Linked DNA regions of Homo sapiens: region 2 is linked to region 1. The links are contacts of gene promoters, found by promoter capture Hi-C in human tissues and cell types (Jung and others, 2019). All regions are on one chromosome and are shown on one strand. Each heading gives the region's core, a stretch centred on a gene start or on the middle of the fragment in contact. The rest is flanking DNA. Distances are from core to core; before and after follow the strand shown.

Region 1 (4,648 bases), core at 1,191-3,690:
TTGCAGCAGGCACATAAAATACTTCCCAGAAGAAGATAATTCAGTGCATAATAAGAGCACCACATCTTTCCAGAACTTCAATCAACCACTGCTACACAAATAGGATTTGCTAAGCCACTCCTGAAAACTGTAGGACTAGAGTGCTTTCAAATGGTCTTTGCCGTGGGAGAAAACAGGCTACCTAAGCTGAATTATAGAAAGTAAAGAGATTCTGGAAGGTACCATCATCAGTTTTCTGGGAAGCATGTGAAGGACATGACTTGGAAGAATGGGTCCAGACTTTTGAGCACAAAGCCAGCAGCTCCACCCTGAAGACCATCATTTGGCTCATAAGTCCTGACTTCTGAAGCAAGTGATCTCCCTCCGTATGCATGCCATGTTGGCCATGCAGTTTCTATGAACTCCTCCATAGTGATGAGAAGTGAATGAGCCCCAACTGAAGCCATCATCTCATTTATGGGACAGGATCACACACAGGGTGGTGCTACTTTCTAGAGCCAAATCTCAAGTAAGGTGTCCAGGGGTCAGTTGCAACAGAAGGCACATTAGCCACAGCAGTCTCAGAGAACACTGCTAGAAGAAGAACCTACACATGGCCATGCAATGAGGCTGAGGGGCAGGCCTAAGTGGAAGCAGACCAAGTAAAGAGGTCAGAGAGCCCATGGAAGGAGAAGAGGGAAAGACAGTTCCAAGAGTAAAGCAGCCTAGGTTAAGGTGCAGAAAATTCAGCATGGATACTTTTAAGAGAGCTGTGCAAGGCTCTCCTTACCTAAAATCACACTCCGTATACAGACATACCCACAAACAATCACATCATGTTCTTTGCTCAAGATTGAACTTGCTGAAACTGTGATGTGCTACTACTCCTACCGGGGGTAGAGGGTAGTCTGCTGCTGTACTTCTCCTCTCTGGTTACTGATGCAATTATCTATAGAAGTATAATGCCGCTCTCTGTAAGCAATTTTAGGTAAAATCCATGGGATATTTTCACAGTGAGCTAGCCTACAGAGAGGGCAAAAGTTTCTGGGTTCTTAAAGCAGCTGCCGCCAATGCAAGCTCTGTACAGGAGGAATTTCTTTTTTTTTTTTCGTTTTATTATTATACTTTAAGTTTTAGGGTACATGTACACATTGTGCAGGTTAGTTACATATGTATACATGTGCCACGCTGGTGCGCTGCACCCACTAACTCGTCATCTAGCATTAGGTATATCTCCCAATGCTATCCCTCCCCCCTCCCCCCACCCCACAACAGTCCCCAGAGTGTGATGTTTCCCTACACTCCACCTCATGCACAAGCCCAAATATATCACAGCTTCTCTACAGAAATGCATAATTCACTGGCGAAGTTAATAGACATTGGCCAAGAGGATGATCTCCTCACTATGGAATCAGCTACAGTCTTAGGTAGCATGCAAACTCCAGTCTGACTCCAATCCCTTATATCTTCCATCGTAAAGTATTATTGCCAACTTTGTTTCTTTCCAATTTTTGTATGTTCTGCAGTTTATGTAAAGGCTAGCAAAAACATGAATACTTTATTATACATATGGCAAATAGTCTCAAATTGTAATGACTCATTTTTATCCTCTTATACTGTTGTAAAATTCAGAACAACATGTATTCACTATAGGAGTATGAAAATTCTTTTTACCAATGTACATTTTAAATAACATTGTGGTAAAGAGAAGCTACATATTTCACATTCTGATTCAACTCACTGTATCCAACGAGTAAAAGATCCTAGAAAGAATCTTACATTTCTAAAATTCTTATAGACTAAGAGTGAGCGATAGGAACAATAAAAATATTTCTGTAAGTGCTCTTGGTAAACAGTCTTAAAGTCAGAAGAACACTTATCCAAAATGCCCTACATTATTGTGCAATCAAAGTAGATAACTTTAACTTCAAAAACAACTCAGTCTTCCAACCCAATTCTTAAAACTCTAAGCTCTTCACAAAAAATTTTTAGCCAATTTAAACTTATTTCTACACTCAGTTATGTTTAAAACAACATAATGTTTGCATAATTTTTTAAAAAACATTCTAACTCAATGTTTTTATTTATCTAATATTAATTACCAGATATAAAATCTTTAAAGTAGCCCAATATTTTTCAAAATAATTTCTGCATAGATGATTGTCATTCAGTTTATAAAGGTTTATTTATAATTTTGTGATAGGAATAAGAAAAGACAAAACCTCTGAAACAAACTCACACACAAAAGCAAAATACAAAACAAAACAGAAAAAATACAGTGAACTTACTTCTGGGAAAATGGAAGCAAGGAATCTAGAGGTATGGTTTATCCACTGAGCTCCTTGTTTAGAAGAAAGTTATTCATATTTTCTCCTGGTCTCTACCATGTATCTAGAATTTGCTTTAACTATTTGACTTCTGTGAAAAGTTTCTGTGAAGACTGCTTTCAGAGTGGAGGTTATGATCTCAATTCTGTTGGCCCTGCCAAACATCACATTCACGTCATCATGCTTGGACTGTTTGTCTTCTCATTGATATTCGGCCAGTTCCTGCAGAGCAGTGGCATTTATACTGGGTTGCCTGGCTATATCATATTATAGGGAGCAATTTCTCTTTTACGTCCAAGATTATTGTGGCTAATACCAAAATTTAAAGTGCTGTCTTTAAGCCATGAGAAAGTAAACAGCTTAATCAGAGAAAAGCTCTTCTCTCTACCCAGAGCTCTAGTCTGCTTAATTGACAGCTTTACCTAGATAATCAAAATTTTCATTCCTCTGCTTCCCAGCTTCATTTTCACTCAGTTCAGACTATTTTCCAATTTATTTGACCCACGGATTAATCAGAAATGTGCTTAATTTCCAAGTGTCTGAAGATTTTCTTATCTTTTGGTTATTGATTTAATTTTAAATCAGAAGTTCAATTATACTCAGAAAAAATATTTTGTATGTCAAATTTGTTAAGGCTTATTTGATGACCCAGGATATGATCTATCTTGGCAGATATTCCATAGGCACTTGAAAAGTTGTATAGTTTTTTGGTGTTGAGTGGAATATTATATAATATCTATTACATTTAGTTGGTTGATGATATTGTTCAGTTTTTTCTATATTTTTCCTAATTTTCTGTCTCCTAGTTCTGTTGATTACTAAGAGAGGAATGTTGAAGATTTTAACAAAACTTAGGGACTTTCAAATTTCTCCCTTTAAAACTATCATGTTTTGCCTGATGTATTTTGCAACATTTGGAATTGTTATGTCTTCTTGGTGAATTGACCCTTTTATCATTATGTAATGTTAATCTTTATCTCTAGTAACTTTTGTGTTCTAAAGTCTACTTTGTTTCATATTAATAATATAGCCATTCTTACTTTCCTGTGATTATTGTTTTCGTGGTATTTTGTTTTCATCCGTTTATTTTTATCTACACACACACACACACACACACACACTATATGCTTTCAGAGTGGCAGTTATGATCTCAATTCTGTTGGCCCTGCCAAACATCACATTCATATTATATGTGTATGCGTGTGTGTGTATGTGTGTGTGTGCGTCTGTGTTTGTTATTATTTTTTTAAGATGATGGTCTTGCTATGTTGCCAAGGCTGGACTTGAACTCCTGGGTTCAAGTGATCTTCCCATCTCAGACTCCTGAGTAGCTGAAACTACAGATACATGCCACTATACCCAGCTCTAAATTGTATTTCAAGTGAGTTTCTTGTAGATGGCATATAATAGAGTCATGAGTTTGGTTTTTAAAATCCAATTTGACAATGCACATCTTTTAATGGGTGTGTTTAAATTATTTTCATTTTATGTAGCTATTGATTTTTAAAATCAGATCTGCCATTTTGTTATTTGCTTCTTTTCTCTCTGGTTTTAATTCTCCTATTTCCCATTTTCTGCTTTCTTGTTGGTTATTTGAAATTATTTTTTGGTATTGCATTTCAACGTATCTATTATGTTTCTTAACTGTATCTATTTGTATAGTTATTTTAGTGGTCACTCTCAGGATTACAAAAGACATACTTAACTTGACATGCTTTACCCAGAATTAATATTTCTTCATTTTAAGTGAAATATATAAACCTTACTATGATATACAGACAAAATAGGAAGGAGGTCAACAAGGGTGCTGCTCAGTAACTATATAACCAGAAGGGGAAGAAATAGAGGAGTAAGAGGCTCAACATGGTCTCCATCACCCCAATAAAAAGTCATGATCTCTTGCTCAGCTCCTAGTCCTAAGCTACTTTTCAGATACAGAACATATTGATTAAAAAACTAGTCAGACCCCTAGAAGAAAAGATCTTGCAACATCTTGACAAGTATATACTGTGGTGATTATACTTCCTAGTCCTCCCTCAAAGGGACCTAAAGCCATTATTTGGGTGATTATACACTGAAGAAAGAAAAATCCCCAGACATGTCAAGGGTTGTTGGGCATAAAGTCAGAGTGGACATTGATAACTGCAACCCACACTAAGGCCCTACAGCTAGATTGAGAATATAGAGCCAAGGTCGTAAATGGAGTTCCGGTTAACAAGCAGCTCTGCCTCGTCTCACTGGACTTATGGACATACCCAGTGGTGATTTTGCTGTCACCAAATGTGCTGTTAGAATTGACATATCTAGTAGTTAGAATAACTTCCATGCTGAGTCCTTGGCCT
Region 2 (4,648 bases), core at 642-3,141, 170 kb after region 1:
GCTTAAAGATTACATACCCTGTAAGCTCTATGTATCTTAGGGGAAGAGTTCCTTTGTATATAAAGCATTTCTATATAAAGAGGAAGAGTCAATTTTTATATAAAGCAGAGACCACATAGGAAGAAAAAAATCAATGGCTTAGTGCCTTTTATATTCATACAAAATAGAATTCACACGTTGGAATTGATTGAAAAAGATTTGACATTGTCTACAGGTGGGGAAGAGTAATGATGCCACTAAGAAATGATCACTGTGAAGAAAGAAGAGATAAAACTTGTGGATTAGAAACTGCATATACTGTTGGATGGTCAAAAGGCAGTTTTAGACTGCCTTGCAGCCCCAGACCTGCTTTAACACTCAGTGAGTGTGTACCACCTTGCCATTAAAGAGCTACAACATTGACCGCCTAAGCCTACTTTCTTGCTTTGGTGTGGATCTGGGGTGAGGTGCCCCACAATGGAGCCAAAAGCTTTAGTGAATAGTCCTTGCATCAAATGACTTTCTTTCCCTGGTTTGTCAGTAGCCTCAGGTCTCCACCTGAGCTAAGAATCCAGACCAAGTGACAGGTGTACCCAGTCAACACTGTATACATTGGCTAGGTTTGGAGGCACAGTGGGGATGTGGGAGAAGAAGGGAGAAGTTGGGGGAAGGTGGGGGTGGAGCACATTTTACTTTCTTTCCTAGGTCACTAGGCAGCAGTAGAAGAACAAAGAAAATTTTGAGGTCTTTGTAAGTAAAAGATTTTGTTAGAAGATTGGATCTGAAAATTTTTATAATTTGAATAATAATATAATACAATATTATTTTGTGCCCTCAACTGGTAAAGAAGGATTGATGACACTGGAACTGAGTTTTATGGAATTATTCCTCACTTGGCCTTTCTTGTTTGGATAGAAATTTTCTATGGAGCTGGTATACTCCTAGCTAGAGCAGAGGAAGCGCTGTTGCCCCTCTCAGAAAACTTAAACGGAAAATTGGTTAAGAACTAGATGGAGGAAGCTTAGGTATATGGGTTAGGCCTCTTTGTCTTGGAAATATTTCACTTCCTAGATATGGTTCTCTATTTATTCATTTTTCTTTGCCTCCTGACATCTCAATAGTATGTTAAGAGCATAGACTGTAGAGCCAGACTATCTGGATTACAATTCCAGTTCCCCACTTGCGAGTTGTGTGATATTGGGTAAAAGGCTTAAGCTTTCATTGCTTCACTTTTTGTATTCTCAAAATGGGGAAAATAAAGATACCTACCTCGTAAGCTTTTTGTGCGAATTATGTGCAAGTCAGGTACATAGTCAGCACTAAGTAAACATCTGTTAATAAATAAACGATTGCTATTTAAAGCGCTGATCCATTAACTTTGTACCAAACTTTGTAGAAAAATCTACAAAGCTATTTTGAAATCCATGATACTTGGGTTCAATCCCAAAACTGCTGAGTTAGAATCCCTGGCTAAAAACAGATATTCTAAATGCTCCTCATGCAATTCTGTGATATACCAAGTCTCATAACAACCCTACAAAGTCAATATTAATCTTGTTTCATAGAAGACACTGAGACTCATAAAATTTACTCATTTTTCCAAGAGTACACATCAAATGAGAGAGGAGAGTATTAGGATCTAAGAATTTCTGATTCAGAATTTCTTACTTCTTCCAACTTATCATATAAAACCAGATGAAACCATGGAGAGAGGGGTTCACAGAATGAAAGGAGCAAGTATAAAAGAGAGGTGGGCACAAGAGAAAGAGGCAGAAAGGGGGACAAGATGAAGTGTGGCTGGATAATATGATACAGAGCTGATAAACAAGGAGGATTTTCCTTTCAAGTAACAGAAGAAATTGGTGGTGATGGAAATGGAGCAGTTCAAAGTGACATTGACAAAAACAAATATCTTCTCCTTCAATATTTTGCCTCAAGCTCACCCTGATGCTCTCGGTTAATAATTCTTTAGCCTTATGTTCTCACTCATAGGTGGGAATTGAACAATGAGAACACATGGACACAGGAAGGGGAACATCACACACCAGGGACTGTTCTGGGGTAGGGGGAGGGGGGAGGGATAGCATTAGGAGATACACCTAATGCTAAATGACGAGTTAATGGGTGCAGCACACCAACATGGCACATGTATACATATGTAACAAACATGCACGTTGTGCACATGTACCCTAAAACTTAAAGTATAATAATAATAAAATTAAAAATAATAATAATTCTTCAGCCTTGTGCTCATGCATTAGTATTACTTATAAGTGTGATTACCTGATGGCTTCTTTTCCTTGGAATTCAGGAGCTACTGGTTCAAAATAATCATCAGAGGGATGCTCAGCATCGATTTCTTTCTCAATAACCTTAGCATTAGTCCTTTGGTGTTGGAAACAAGATGATGAATTCAAGAAAAATAAAGGAGAATAATGGCGCTCATCTCCATCTAATTAACCAAGAGGCAACAAAATATGATCAGTAATAGTAAAAGAATGCGCAAAGAAGCCTTGCTAACAACAATGCAGAATGCCTTGAAGTTTTAAGCATCATAGAGACATTTTTTCTTCTAAAACTCAATTTATTATTAAGAAGAAAACTTGATGATGAAGTAAACAATGGGAATTCAAAGGAAATAACATATTGCAAAATTAAACAATATAATACAGCTTTCAACAAAGTATAAATAGAATGTGATCAAAAAAAAGAAAGTCAATAGGAAAGTGAGGTTCGAATAAAATATTAGGTGTATGACCAGCTGAGTTGGACTCCAGCTTTTCCCTGATCAAGACATTAGTACAGATCTTAGAGCCTCTGTTGTCTACATCTGTAGAAAAGGACACCCAACAAGGAAACCATTATATGTCCTTTTTTTCCAGTCTTAACAATGGGTTGCATTATCCTTAATAGGCTCATGAAAAACAGATTTGTATCACCCAATAAACATATTTATTAAATTTTTTTAAAATGTGATCTAAAAGGTATTTAGGAGAATGAATGAAACCAAATATTTGGGAAGACACAAAGCCTTAATACAGTGCATAAAAATAATTGTAGACATGTTTGTCAACTTAAATAATTTGACCACAGCAACATAATTGAACATAATATTGAAATCTATATATTCCTGCTTAGGCATGAATACATGGAGAAACTGTATTTGTTTAGAATAAATTTATAGTGATATTTTAAATATATTTTTCCAGTTTAAAAAACAAAGTTGAATTTATTATTAAGGGCCTTCACATATCAACCAGAAGTCACAGAAAGACAGGAATATATACAAGTAAATACATAGAAAACCTATAAGACAACCTTAAATAGTGGAAGGAACATATAAAATAAGAGGATAAACAAGAAGATTGTGCCAGAAAAAAAGCTTTCTGATTCTAGAATGTGTGAAAAAATTCTGGGCTTACGTGACATTTTTGGTTGTTTGCAAGATAATTTAACTGGGCGATCAATATACTTCTGTAAATATGAACAATATATAAAACATTTTGAGAATGATGCTGAACAAATATTCATGAGAAAGCTCTTCCACAGTATAATGGCCTCCCGAGAGCCAAACCACCATAAGAACTAATTTCTTTTATCTTGTTTTGACATAAATCCTAATATGACCCTTTCAAAACACTTTCAGGGATCCATGAAAACCTAACATTATTTAATTACCACACAATTACAAGATGTATTATAATTATTGTTGTCATATAATTATAATATATTGCTATAGTAAAGTCATAAGAAGAATTGTTTTTACATAAAAATTTCATTAGACCATTAGAACTATGAAGTAGAAATAATGAACTTATTAGTTTGAAATGGGAAATATTTAATATTCATTTTAAAAGTCTATATAATCTTAAAAAATATATTCAATGTAATTAATAACTGTAGAGGACAGAGAAAAACTCACTATTACTTACAGGGTAAAATTTTGTCAAAGTATAATGCCAATAGCAAGTAGATGAGACCATCCAAAAGCAACATAGAAAAAGTTGCTATCATTGTATATGAGTCTCCTGAAGGGTCAGGAAAAATTACACCATTCAAGTTATAATCCAGTTTGATAATCTAAGATTCAAAAAATAAAAATAAATGTTTAAAATAAATAAATAAATAGCTTGGCATAGCAGGAAAAAGTATTAATTTATTAACTAGCTTTTTCAAGAGGCACTTAGTAGTTACTAGTCAAATATATAAATAAGTAAATAAAGGTATTGGTCAAAATATTTCTATTTTACAATGAAAAATAATTAGAAAGAAATATTTATTTAATAAATACAATGTTCTAAGTATAATAATTTAAATTATAATTCATTTGTTTGTTTTCAGAAAATCATTGCAGTATTACAAATATCTATTCTGGGCAACAAAGGAGATATAAATTTTGGAAAGAATATAAGAAATTCTTGGACGCCTTTAATTAGATAAAAAGAGAACTTACCTCCTTTTCTAGTTATTATTTCAAATAAAAGTTTGTATTTAGAATTTTGCCACATAATAACAGCGACTATGTTCTAGGCACTGTCCTAAGTGTTTTGTATATTATCCCATTTAATCTTCCTTAAAACCCTATCAGATAAGCAATAAGGCTTATAAAAATAATAAGATTTTAATCTGCACTTTACATATGATAAAACTAAGGCACAGCGAAGTTGAG

Evidence for each region. The method cuts DNA at HindIII sites, captures the fragments that hold promoters and counts their contacts. A contact is called where the count stands out against the background at its distance.
Region 2: a contact is called between a fragment that was not itself captured here and the fragment with the promoter of ABCA8 in region 1, in 2 of the 25 tissues and cell types used here (H1 embryonic stem cells and adrenal gland).

The regions. Positions count from the first base shown.
Region 1 is chr17:68,952,952-68,957,599 of GRCh38, forward strand. It overlaps ABCA8 (ATP binding cassette subfamily A member 8), which reads right to left and starts at 2,441. Exons shown (of 40, transcript NM_001288985.2): 1 at 2,268-2,441. The HindIII fragment of the contact is 19,891 bases long and covers 1-4,648 here.
Region 2 is chr17:69,120,977-69,125,624 of GRCh38, forward strand. It overlaps ABCA6 (ATP binding cassette subfamily A member 6), which reads right to left. Exons shown (of 39, transcript NM_080284.3): 9 at 3,912-4,059; 10 at 2,263-2,431. Among named protein-coding and RNA genes, the nearest start is that of ABCA6, 19 kb to the right of the region's middle. The HindIII fragment of the contact is 4,600 bases long and covers 1-4,191 here.